Linked DNA regions of Homo sapiens: region 1 is linked to region 2. Evidence: promoter capture Hi-C in human tissues and cell types (Jung and others, 2019). All regions are on one chromosome and are shown on one strand. The core of a region is centred on a gene start or on the middle of the fragment in contact, and the rest is flanking DNA. Distances in the headings are between cores, read along the strand shown.

What was found. Contacts are between HindIII fragments. The study calls those that stand out against the background at their distance.
Region 1: the fragment with the promoter of AZGP1 here is called in contact with the fragment with the promoter of CPSF4 in region 2 in 1 of the 25 tissues and cell types used here (spleen).

What each region holds. Positions count from the first base shown.
Region 1 is chr7:99,971,445-99,977,880 of GRCh38, forward strand. It overlaps AZGP1 (alpha-2-glycoprotein 1, zinc-binding), which reads right to left and starts at 4,587. Exons shown (of 4, transcript NM_001185.4): 1 at 4,501-4,587; 2 at 302-562. The coding sequence starts at 4,576. The HindIII fragment of the contact is 25,198 bases long and covers 1-6,436 here.
Region 2 is chr7:99,436,747-99,443,847 of GRCh38, forward strand. CPSF4 (cleavage and polyadenylation specific factor 4) reads left to right here and starts at 2,197. Exons shown (of 8, transcript NM_006693.4): 1 at 2,197-2,439. The coding sequence starts at 2,337. The region is part of intron 2 of ATP5MF-PTCD1 (ATP5MF-PTCD1 readthrough); the gene reads right to left. PTCD1 (pentatricopeptide repeat domain 1) reads right to left here and starts at 2,052. Exons shown (of 8, transcript NM_015545.4): 1 at 1,946-2,052. It also overlaps the pseudogene LOC100131859. RefSeq lists enhancers at 1-345, 1,642-1,931 and a silencer at 2,192-2,491. The HindIII fragment of the contact is 24,338 bases long and covers 1-7,101 here.

The DNA of each region.
Region 1 (6,436 bases), core at 3,337-5,836, 540 kb after region 2:
TCAGCCTCCGATGGGTGGGGTGTGGAGGTGAGAGGTCATAGGTGCCTGGATAGGAAGTGACTCTGCCATCACTTCCTGTGTGACCTGAGGCCTGGGATGAGGATGGGGCAATTGATGGGGAAGCGGGGAGCACCTGTGCTGTGGGGTGGGTGGGATGTGGACATGTCTGTGTTTCTGCTGTGTCTCCTGTTCTTCCCCTGGGATTGGGACTATTTCCATCCTGCTGATCCCTTGCCACTCACACTGGGGGGGCTGCCTCTTGGGTTAGACCTTCCACCCCTGTGGTCTGTTATTCACTGACCGTTACTGTCGTTGTAATACTCCACGATGTCTTTCAGGGTCTCCATAAAGATGTCCTCCCTGGCCTTCTGAAGTTGGCTGTCCTGCTTCCAATCCTCCATTCCTTCCACCTGTCTCCAGAGTCCCATGGGCTGAGACTTCCTGTCTTTACTGTTGTATCTAAAGAACTGGAGGTCATTGAGTGAGCCAAGGGCCTGAAACGCGGGGACGTCTTCAACATGCTTGGACAGCCCAGTGTAGATATAGGTCAGAGAGTAACGACCTGCAAAAGAAAAGATTCTGATGGTTGAGGTCCATGCAAGGGTCCCACTGTGGGGCTGCATAGGGCTAGGAGGGGAGACCTGCCACTGGCCTTTTCTTCCCCAGCTCTTTCTCCTGCCATCAACTTCACACCACTGGAGGCTCACTCAAGTGAATATGCTCTACTTTCATGCCTGAGATGATATTTCAGAGACCATCCTGTGTCTTCACTACATTATTTCCTCTGCTTGACACATAGGAAGATAACATTACTCAGCCACCTCGAAGATATATTGGGACCATGTGACTGAGTTTTGTCAAAAGAGAATGTGAGCAGAAGTGATGTCTTTCTTCTTGTCCAAGACCCTACCAGCTGGCTTGTCCCTTTTGTTTCTCATCCCTAGAGGTGACGACTTTGAAGGCCACAGGATAATATGAAAGAGTCTCAATATGCAATTGGCCTGGATCCCTGAGTCACCCCATGGAGGAATGGAACCTTGCCCAGTGTGCATGGAATCTGACATGCGTTAGAAATTAACATTTCTAGGCTGGGCTCCGTGGCTCATGCCTGTAATCCCAGGACTTTGGGAGGCCAAGGCAGGCAGATTACTTGAGATCAGGAGTTGAAGACCAGCCTGGCCAACATGGTGAAACCCCATCTCTATTAAAAAATACAAAAATTAGCTGGGCATGGTGGTGCGGGCCTGTAATCCCAGTCATGCTGGAGGCTGAGGCAGGAAAATCACTTGAACCAGAGAGGCAGAGGTTGCAACAAGCCAAGATCATGCCACTGCACTCCAGCTTGGATGACAGAGTGAGACTCCGTCTCAAAAAAAACAAATTAACATTTCGTCCGGGCTCAGTGGCTCACGCCTGTAATCCCAGCACTTTAGGGGGCCGAGGCGGGTGGATCACGAGGTCAGGAGATCGAGACCATCCTGGCTAACATGGTGAAACCCCGTCTCTACTAAGAATTCAAAAAATTAGCCAAGCATGGTGGCGGGTGCCTGTAGTCCCAGCTACTCAGGAGGCTGAGGCAGGAGAATGGCATGAACCCGGGAGGCGGAGCTTGCAGTGAGCTGAGATCATGCCACTGCACTTCAGCCTAGGTGACAAAGCAAGGCTCCATCTCAAAAAAAAAAAAATTAACACTTCTAGCTTAACCTGACAAATACATATAGTTAGAAAGGGTAGAAAGGAGAATTTACCAGAAAATTCAAGAAATGACCCAGACTGAATTAGCACAGGGTAAGACTAGGATGGAGCTCAGAATTCCCGGGGTTGTACCTTGCATTTTGGTACAAGGTGGGATCTGGGAGAGAGGGACATTTCCATAATAGTTCCATAATTATTTTATGATACAATTTACACAGGTGCTAATGATGTTGGAGGTCATATGGCAGAATCCTAGTTCAATTACTAAAATTATTCTTGCTCCTGAGTGTCTAAATGTGATTAGCCTTTAAATCAGTAGACCCTACAATTGAATTCATGGACATAGAGAGTAGAAGGATGGTTACCAAAGGCTGGGAAGGGTAGTGGCAGGGTTGGGGGGAAATTGGGAGGGTGGTTAATGGGTACAAAAAAAATAGTTAGAAAACTATTTGATAGCACAACAAAGTGACTCCAGTGAATAATAATTTAACTGGGGCCAGGTGTGGTGGCTCATGCCTGTAATTCCAACACTTTGGGAAGCTGAGGCAGGTGGGTCACTTGAGGTCAGGAGTTCGAAACCAGCCTGGCCAACATGGTGAAACCCCATCTCTACTAAAAATACATAAATTAGCCGGGCGTGGTGGCACACACCTGTAGTCCCAGCGACTCAGAAGGCTGAGGCAGGAGAATCGCTTAAGCCCGGGAGGCAGAGGTTGCAGTGAGCCAAGATTGCACCACTGCATTCCAGCCTGGGCAACTCTGTCACAAAAAAAAAAAAAAAAAGAAGAATGAATAAGACCTACTATTTGATAGCACAACAGGGTGACTATAGTCAATAATAATTTAACTGGGGCCAGGTGTGGTGGCTCGTGCCTGTAATTCCAGCACTCTGGGAGGCTGAAGTGAGTGGATCACTTGAGGTCAAGAGGTCAAGACCAGTCTAGCCAACATGGTGAAACCCTATCTCTATTAAAAATACATAAGTTAGCCGTGTGTGGCAGTGTACACCCGAGGCAAGATAATTGCTTGAACCCAACAGGCGGAGGTTTGCAGTAAGCCAAGATCACGCCACTGCACTCCAGCCTGGGTGACAGAACAAGAATCCATCTCAAAAATAATAATAATAATCATAATTTAATTGTACACTTTTAAATAACCAAAAGAGAGGCCAGGCGCAGTTGCTGACACCTGTAATCCCGGCACTTTGGGAGACCAAGGCGGGCAGATCACGAGGTCAGGATATCAAGACTAGCCTGGCCAACATGATGAAACCCGTCTCTACTAAAAATACAAAAAAATTAGCCAGGTGTGGTGGCAGGTGCCTGTAGTCCTAGCTACTCAGGAGACTGAGGCAGGAAAATTGCTTGAACCTGGGAGGCGGAGGTTGCAGTGAGCCGAGATCATGCCACTGCACTCCTGCCTGGGTGACAGAGTGAGACTCTGTCTCAAAAATAAATAAATAAATAAATAATCAAATACTTTTAAAAACTAAAATAACCAAAAAAGTATAATTGGATTGTCTGTAACACAAACGATAAAAGCTTGAAGGGATGGATACCTCATTTTTGATGATGTGATTATTTCACATTGCATGCCTGAATCAAAACCTCTCATGTACCCCATAAATATATACACATACTATGCACCCACAGTTTTTTTTTTAATTTACAAAAAAATCAGTAGACCTTGAGTAAAGTGGATTACTCTCCATAGTGGTGGGCTTCATCCAATCAGTTGAAGGCCTTAAGAGAAAAAGCCTCAGATGTCCCCTAAAGAGGAAAGAATTCTGCCTACAGTCTGCCCTTGGAATCAAGACTAAGACATCAACTCTTCCCTGGGTCTCCAGCCTGCTGGCCGGCTCTGAAGATTTAGGACTTGTTACTCCTCCCAATAGTGTGAGTCAATTTCTTAAAATAAATCTCTACTCTCTCTCTCTTTTGTATACATATATGTAAATCTCTTCCTATGTGTGTGTGTATCCATGTGTATACAGTGTATGTATGTATGTGTACGTACATATATATGTATATGTGTACCACCTATTAGTTCTGTTTCTCTGGAGAACCCTGAGTAATTCAGATTTTGGCACAGAATCAGATTAACATTCCAAAGTGATTGTTATATAACAAACATATAACACCTTTTCTGACAATTTGTAAATGTCATGAATTTTAAACTCACACAACTGAGAAGCCATTCGCTTCCATGTCTTTATCCTGCACATTCTCATGCCACAAACAGCCTCCTTCCCTTATCCTAGGAGTGACTCTTGATCTCCCGGAGCTCCCACTCTCTTCTCTTCCAGCCACTCGCCTTCCAGACCCACTGCAGTGGTGTCTGAGTGTGGGATTTGGGCACGGGTTTCCTTCTAGCACCATCCCTCCAGCCAACCTGCCTTCCCACTTTCCCCTTGGGGCTGCTCTCTCTTTCCCTCAGCGTCAGGCAGGTGTACCCAGCCATCGGAAGGAGGGAAGGAACAGGAGCAGAAGCAGCTCCAGGCATATGGTTCCTACTCCGTCCTGACTGTCTACCCCAAGCAGGTCGCTTGGTCTTTGGAGTCTTTGTTTTCACTGTAAACTAGGGGTTTTAGATTCAGATTCCTGAAGGTCTTATTTCGGGCCAGCGCAGAGGCTCCCTGAATGCTCCTGGAAGTGTGTGAGCTGAGGGAGTTGACAGCCTTGGGCACCCATTCCTGCCGTATGCCAGGGTATCCCAGCTGCATCCAGCCTGTCTCCCAGCCACATGTCCTGTTCCTCACCTCCTTCCAGTCCTCTCCAGCACCCATCCCTTGCTTTCCCCACTCACCATCTTGGTTCTCCTGGGGGACAGCAGGACCCAGAAGCAGCAGCAGAGACAGCAGGACAGGCACCATTCTTACCATTGTGTCTGCTTGGAGGGTTCTGGGCAGGAGGCACAGATATTATCCTGGGTCCTGGGGCCCTGCCCAGGGGAGGTGAATCTACAGGCCAATGGGAGTGCCAGGACGGGCTCCTCCCCTAATAGAGAAAAAAAAATGATACACAAGCTAGGCTGGGCAGAGGTTATGAAGAATGAATCTACACACAGGATATGCAAATTCAGAGCTGAGTCCAGAGTTGATCTCTGGACTGAGGCTTTGTGTGTGCCTGGGGTGGAAGGATGCCAGTGGGTAGGAGGTGCGTGTGATGGGTGGCAAGCGCCTGGGATGTGTCACCCTTCCAGTCTATTGTGACAACCCCTGGGCCAGTAGGGGCATTTGTGTGTTTTTGGACCACACTGTATCCCTGCCTTCCAGAAAAACTCTCAACATGTCCAAGACATGGACCTGGGTAGACCCCAGCTGGGGTGGGACCCTCACTCTCCCACATCCGATCCTGCCAGAGGCTGTGTCTGGAGGACAGTCACATTCCCATCTCTCCCTCCTTCCTTTCTGTGCCTGTGGAATCCCAGCCTTCCATGATGGAAGCAGAAATAGCCGCATCCTCCTTTTGCAGCCTCCCTGGCAACAGAACGAGCCTCCCAAAATGCTGGGATTAAAGGCGTGAGCCACCACGCCCAGCCAAGATAATTTTTAATGCATACAACAAGACTCGTTTTACACAGACGAAGCCAGTTATTTGAAAACCAGGTCTTTCCAGGCACGCTCAGTGTTGATGGGCTATTTGCAGAGAGACCCTCCGAATACAAAGCAACATGCTATTCTAAAGTGACTGGGGCCCGGGTGCGGTGACTCATGCTTGTAATCCCAGCACTTTGGGAGGCTGAGGTGGTTGGATCACCTCAGGTTGAGGTCAGGTACTCGAGACCAGCCTGGGCAACATGATGAAACCTCGTCTCTACTGAAAAAATACAAGAATTAGCTGCGCGTGGTGGCACATGCCTATAATCCCAGCACTCAGGAAGCTGAGGCAGGGGTTTCACCATGTTGGCCAAGCTGGTTTTGAACTCCTGACCTCGTGATCTGCCCGCCTCGGTCTCCCAAAGTGCTGGGTTTACTAGTGTGAGCAACTGTGCCCAGCCTCTCTTTTGGTTAAAGAAACCTACAAAGGGACCTTTTATAGTGACTTCAATTTTATGGAATAATTGTAATGCTCCTAAGGCCGTTGTGCTCCAAAGTCTAGCCGCAGGTATTGTTATTGATTGGGCTCCAAAAGGGCATTATTGGCAAGATTGCTCCAGCAAAAATACCTCATGCTCAGAGTTTAATTATTTGTTAGATTATGTAGAGGATGGATGGCAGTCATACAGGCTGAGACAATGGGTGTCCCCTTACCTATTTAAATGGATGGATGCAGGCATTACTCCTCCTAGACCAAAAATGATTCATCCCTTTGTTACCCCAGAACATCCTCAACTATGAAAATTAGCTGCAGCTATGACAGGAATAAGGATATGGAACACTACCTATCAACTCCTTCACACTAATACCAAAACACCCACATTCAACATCACCCTCATATCTGAACGGGTGATACCCATCAGGAGCTATGTCAAACCCCCTTACATGCTGTTGGTTGGAAATATAATTATCATTCCCAATACACAAACTATAGAATGTGATAACTGTAAGCTGTTCACGTGCATTGATGCTACTTTTAATCCCACTACAAGTACTCTCTTGGTAAGGGCTAGGGAGGGGGTATGGATACCAGTTTCTTTACATCGTCCATGGGAGTCTTCCCCCTCTATTCACATAGTCAATGAAGTTCTTAAAGGTATCCGCAAAAGAACAAAGAGATTTATTTTTACTCTTATTGCCATC
Region 2 (7,101 bases), core at 947-3,446:
CGCATTGATGATTGTCCTGACCAGCACCTTTTGTGAAACTAGTGCAGGGGGCCTTTATCATTCTGCATCTGGCAAGCCCTGCCACTCCTTCTTACAAGCATGGTGTTTATGTAATTTTCTTTTTTGTGGAATGGGGTCTTCATGTTGCCCAGGCTGGAGTGCGATGGCACAGTGGAGTGCAAATGCACAATCACTGCAACCTCCAACTCCTGGGCTCAAGTGATCCTCCTACCTCAGCCTCTCAATTAACTAGCACTACTGGTGCACACCACCATACCTGTCTAATTTTTTGTATTTTTTTGTAGAGATGGAGTCTCCCTATGTTGCCAGGCTGGTCTAGAACTCCTGGCCTCAAGCAATCCTCCAGCCTTGGCCTCCCAAAGTGTTGGGATTGCAGGCGTAAGCCTCCATGCCCTGCCTTACGTGCATTAATTACAATACACAGAATTACAAAACAAAAAGCAATGATATTGAAATGGCATCAAAATGCTTTAAAAACAAATTTCTGCTATACTAGTATAGATGCTTATTTTCAATGCATGAAATAACAAGACCCTATCATAATTTCTTTTCTTTTCTTTTTTTTTTTTTGAGACAGTCTCTCACTCTGTCCTCAGGCGTGACCTCGGCTCACTGCAATTTCCGCCTCCCGGATTCAAGCGATTCTCCTGCCTCAGCCTCCCCTGGAGCTGGGACTACAGACGCATGCCACCAAGCCCAGCTAATTTTTGTATTTTTAGTAGAGACAGGGTTTCACCATGTTGGCCAGGATGGTCTGGATCTTTTGACCTTGTGATCCGCCCGCCTCGGCCTCCCGAAGTGCTGGGATTACAGCCGTGAGCCACCGCGCCCGGCCGACTCTATCATAATTTCAAAGCAGTAATAAATGTAAGTGACAGCTTAAGATACCACCTTGTAGTTGCTGCACAAACTGGGTTTTTTTGCGTCTCACTCTGTCACCAGGCTGGAGTGGGGTGGTACAATCTCGGCTCAATGCAACCTCTGCCTCCCGGGTTTAAGCCATGCTCATGCCTCAGCCTCCCAAGTAGCTGGGATTACAGGAACGCGCCACTACTCCAGGCCAATTTTTATATTTTCAGTAGGGACGGGGTTTTGCCATCCTGTCCAGGCTGGTCTCGAACTCCTGACCTCACGTGATCCTCTCGCCTCAGACTCCCAAAGTGCTGAGGTTACAGGTGTGAGCCACCATGCCTGGCCCTGCACAAACTGTTATCTGGAACTATCATTTACACTCACCCTCACAGTTTCAGGCACTGCTAAGGCTGCTCCAGCAATCAGGAAAGGAAATGCTATACTTCACATAGAGAAAAATAGGGGTGCATTTTGTTCCTACACAAGCTCATTACCCCACCCTGGTTAAAAAAAACCCTGAATTAGGCTGTATAGTGGCTCATGCCTGCAATTCCAGCACTTTGGGAGGCCCAGGCAGGAGGATCGCTTTGGGCTTGGGGCCAGGAGTTCGAGACCAGCCTGGGCAACATAGCAAGACCCGCCACCCGCCCCCCCAACCCCGCCGTCTCTACAAAAATTAAAAATAAAATTTTAAAAATTAGCCAAGTGTGGTGGTGCAGCGTCTGTAGTTCCAGCTACTCGGGAGGCTGAGGTGGGAGGATCGCTTGAGTCTGAGAAGTTGACTGCAGTGAGCTATGATCGTACCCCTGTACTCCAGCCTGGGCCACAGAGCGAGAAAAAACCCTGAATTAGAGACACGCTGCGGCCGTCCTTCCTCGGAGAGACCCGCCCCTCCTCAGAGGCCCACCCGGACCCTCAGGCCAACGCCGACCCCTCTCCACACGGACTTCTGCAGCCTCAGTTTCCCTCCTCAGACGCCCCCGGCTCCAATCCCGGCTCGGGCACTTCCTTCCCCTCTGGCGTGTCTTGGCCCGGGTCCCGGGGCTCCTGCGAGGATCACACAGGAACTCACTTGAAGTGTCCGGCGCAGTGCACTCCGACGGGGAGCCCTGCCCGGTCCCCGCGGCGAACCAGTCTCTTCCTCGGGTCCCCCTCTCCCCAAGCGCGCAGGCGCAATCCGCGTCGCCGACTCACGCGGCTGGTTTCAGGTTTCTGGCGAGGCCGGTGTTCGGCTGGCGGCTAGCTGGGACTAGCGGAACGGCGGAGTCTCGATTGGCAGTGCCTGGACAGGCGCAAGGGCCGGCGCGGGCTCCGGGCGCTCCCGGCATCCCTCGGGCGGCGGCGGCGGCGGCGGCGAGGCGAAGCGAAGGAGGAGTGTGTGCGGCGGGGCCGGCGGCGGGTAAAGGCGAGAAGGCTGCAGGAGACCGAGGGGGAGCCGGGCCGGTGGGGCCGCCGCCGCCGCCATGCAGGAAATCATCGCCAGCGTGGACCACATCAAGTTTGACTTGGAGATCGCGGTGGAGCAGCAGCTGGGGGCGCAGCCGCTGCCCTTCCCCGGCATGGACAGTGAGCGCGGGGCCCGGGCGGGAGGGCAAGAGCGACTCGAACCCGGGACCCGCTCCTCTGTGATCCCGGGACTCCCTCGCCTCGGTCCTGAGACCTCCCCCGGCTTCCTCTGGATCCTGGGACCCCTCCCCTTTGGTCGCAGGACTCCTCCCTCTAGGTCTTGAGAGTCCCTCCCACCTCCTCCGGGTCCTGGGATCCTCCCCTTTAGTTACCGAACTCCCTCATCTGTGGTCCCGAGACTCTTCCCACTCCATCCTGAGACCTCCTCTTCTGGATCCCGGGACGCTCCCCTTGGTTTCAGGACTCCTGACTCCCAGGCCCCCATTTCCACCGTCTGGGGACTCCTTTTACCCTCACTCGGACTCAGGAGTTCACTGCCTCGGATCTTTGGCCCTCTGCGGCTGTTCAAAGGTAATCTGTAGGAGGGTAGACCTTGTCTGTTCGCTTAATTCTTGAATAAGGGTGGGTTATCCTGGATTGGAACTCTCCCTCAACACTCTCCCAACTGCAGGAGAGTACTAGGATATCACACCCGCTACGTTGAGCGTCTCTTCTTGATTTCATCAAAACTAGGCGGTTGGAGGAGATGTGCTGAGGGAAGGACCACCTTTCTGTAGGAGACCCCAGCTAGACTCTCAAACTCCCTTCTAGGACTCACTCTCCTGGGAGCTCATCCCTAGTTTTTGGCCCGTCCCTACTTTTTTCTGGACCCCAACTCTGAGTTATTCATCACACCCAGCAGCTGGTGTGGACCCTTGGCCTGAACTCCCTTCACTGCTCCCCTTCATATGGTGGCTCCTGGCTTCCCACCTCCTACTCGGTGGGATATCTTGTACTTTAAAAGAAACCAGTAGTTTTCTTTGTGTCTTCTTTCCTATCTGGACATACTTGAAATCTAATGCTATAACCTTAAAGTTTGGGGGCTTGTGGAAGTCACTGAGTTCAATCCACAGATGGGGAAACTGAGACCCAAGCGGGGGAAGGGACTTGCTGACAATCACTCAGTGCATAGCAGAGGCGGGCAAGCTCTCCAGTGTTGTGTGCTGTCGCCCACAACTACCAGCGGGGTCTCCCACCGCTCCCAGCAGCCTCACTCCCCTCAGGCGGTCACACCTTCTCATGCACATGTGACCTCTGAGTCTGTCCCTTTATGTGTTTTTGTTGTTGTTGTTTGTTTGCTTTTGAGACAGGGGCCCCTCTGTCGCCCAGGCTGGGTGCAGTGACGCAATCATGGCTCAATGCAGCCTCGACTTCCCAGGCTCCAGCAATCCTCCCACCTCAGTCTCCCAAGTAGCTGGGACCACAGGCATGCACCAACACGCCTGGCAAATTTTTTTGTGTGTATTTCTTGGTAGAGACACTATTTCATCATGTTTCCCAGGGTTGGTCTTGAACTCCTGGGCTCAAGTGATCCTTTTACCTCGGCCTTCGGAAGTACTGGGATTATAGGCATGAGCCACTGCACCTGGCATATATATATATATATATATTTTTTTTTTTTTTTTTTTCCTGCCTGTCCCACAACTTTACATGGTGATAGTTCTGTACAAGATAGTTTCATTGGAAATTAATTAAGTCTTCAAGAAGACAAGATAGTGCTTATAAGGAGACATCATCAGACCACCCTATTTGACACAGGCACAAACACCATCACCACTGTACACTCCCTAAAAAGCAGCTGCTCAAATTCACACACACACACCCCCTCTTACCTACCCCTCGACTCTTGTGATCATCCCTGCACATGTGGCCTTTTCCTGTCTTTTTTTTTTTTTTTTTTTTGAGACAGAGTTTTGCTTTTGTCACCCAGGCTGGAGTGCAATGGTGCGATCTCGGCTCACTGCAACCTCCACCTCCCAGGTTCAAGCAGTTCTGCTGCCTTGGCCTCCTGAGTAGCTGGGATTATAGGCGCCCACCACCACGCCCAACTAATTTTTGTATTTTTAGTAGAGATGAGGTTTCACCATGTTGGCCAGGCTGGTCTTGAACTCCTGACCTTAAATGATCCACCTGCCTCGGCCTCCCAAAGTGCTGGGATTACGGGCATAAGCCACTGTGCCCAGCCGGCCTTTTCCTGTCTTGATGGCACTAGCTTGAGACCATGGAACCACCCACGCAGGGCAGCTCTTTTCCTCCCACCCTTCTGCCATCTGACACATCCACAAGCCTGTGAGGGGAGGTACAGTGGCGAGGGGCCCACATACCTGTTCCTGAGGCCCGGGACACACCTAGCCATGGGTGTTGCTCCAGCCAGGGCTTCAGAGTCGGTAGGCACCCTCCACACTCGCTGCTTGTCCATATCCTGTTCAGTTAAAGCCTAGTGAGGCCACAGCCCTTCCTCACCCATCCCTCCTCTTCATCCCCATCTGAGTTTTGGGAAGAACTGTCACTTTGCCCATAAGGCATACTCATCCTATCCACATGAGACTCAGTTCCCAGAACTGTGTATTTCTGAGCAGAAGCAACTCTAACCTCTAAAGAGAGAGACCAGAAGTACTTTCAGAATTTTTTTTTTCTTTTTTTTTGAGACAGAGTCTTGCTCTGTTACCCAGGCTGGAGCACAGTGACGCGATCTTGGCTCACTGCAACCTCTGCCTCTGGGTTCAAGTGATTCTCCTGCCTCAGCCTCCCAGGTAGCTGGGATTACAGGCACGTGCCACCATGTCTGACTAATTTTTGCATTTTTAGTAGAGATGGGGTTTCACCATATTGGCCAGGCTGGTCTTGAACTCCTGATGTCAAGTGATCCACCCGCCTCAGCCTCCCAAAGTGCTAGGATTACAGACGTGAGTCACCGCACCTGGCCACTTTCAGACTTTTTGAGATGCAAATGGAGTGACCTCCCTGTGACAGCCATAAGTTCTATAACCTCAGCTGTGTCCTAGCAAAATCTGCTTGCTTCCAAGAAGCCAAGGAATCTTTTGTGATTTAGCAAGGGGAGGCATGTTAAGTGGGCTTCAGAGATGCTGTCATTGGTTTTTCAGCAATTCTAAAATGGTTACTTGTAGAGGAAACTGTTTCTGATGCCAAGGTCAGTTTAGTCTGGCAGCTGGGGCTGGTGAATTCCTGGACTCATCAGAACAGCTGGTCCCTGGAGCCCACTGAATTCCAGCACACTCCGACTGTGGGAATGAAAGGCTGTGCTTTTTTTTTCTTTTCTTTTCTTTTTTATTAACAAGCAACATAATCGGCCGGGCGTTGTGGCTCACACCTGTAATCCCAGCACTTTGGGAGGCCGAGGCGGGCGGATCACGAGGTCAGGAGATCGAGACCATCCTGGCTAACACGGTGAAACCCCGTCTCTACTAAAAATACAAAAAATTAGCTGGGCAAGGTGGCGGGTGCCTGTAGTCCCAGCTACTCGGGAGGCTGAGGCAGGAGAATGGTGTGAACCCCGGTGGGGCAGAGCCTGCAGTGAGCCGAGATCACACCACTGCACTCCAGCCTGGGCAACAGCGAGACTCCGTCTCAAAAAAAAAAAAAAAAAAAACAAAAAACAAGCAATATAATCAAAAACAAAAACACAACAACCTTAAAGCTGAAACAGCAATAAGTCAAACTGCCGCGGCAGTTCACAGTTTTACCTGGGGTACCTGCTCCCTCATTGCAAGGCAAGACTGCATTTAGTATATATGTGACCAAGAAGAATGAGAGAAGTGGAAAACACTGGAGAACAGAAAGTATCAAGAACCTTTCATCAGGCAATGCCAAAGCGCTCTGCTCTTTTCCTCTTCTTTGCCTCTGTATCCTCTGTGGTTCCAGTTCCAGCTGAACTTGTGACAATCCCAAATCGCTCCTTCCTCTTTTTCAGTTTCTTATCATCTTCAGACTTTCTGGAAATTGAAGAGACATTCAAACCAAATCTTTGAGCTCTTTCCTTCGGCTTATCCAAGTTAACCATAGGTGTGTTCAGATGACAGACTTTTGTTGGAACTGAAGAAATCCCAAACCTAGCTGCCTGAGCAGCTTTCTTACTCTCCAAGCTCACAGGTACACTGAATTGTTCGGCCCTCTTCTGCATTCTCTCAGCCTGTGGTATTTCAGATGTAATTTTCACCACTTTCTTCTCTGCTGCCACATCAACAGTTTTTTTCAGGGGGTTCTTCCTATTTGACAAGGGGTTTTTTTCTTCTTCTGTTTCATCTCCTAGTACATCTTCATTTGCCTCCTCTTCAGCATGTTCTTCAAGATATGCCTGGAGTCTGTGGATAAGATCTTGCTTTATTCCCTTGGTCTCCAAACCACAAGAAGACATTCTTGCTTTAGTTTAGCAAGCTTCAGCTTATGGAGCTCCACCATCTCAGTTACCATCTTGTTACCCCTCCGGGTGTGCTCTTTTAATAATTGTATGTGGGGTGGGGTGCGGTGGCTCAATCCTAGCACTTTGGGAAGCCAAGGCAGGCGGATCACGAGGTCAGGAGTTCGAGACCAGCCTGTAATAATTGTATGTGGGCCAGGTGTGGTGGCTCACGTCTATAATCCCAGCACTTTGGGAGGCCAAGGTAGGTGGATCACTTGAAGCCAGTAGTTTGGGACCAGCCTGGCCAACATGGCAAAACCCTATCTCTACTAAAAATACAAAAAAATTGGGCAGGCATGATGGTACACCTATAATTCCAGCTACTCAGGAAGCTGAGGCAGGAGAATCTCTTGAACCAAGGA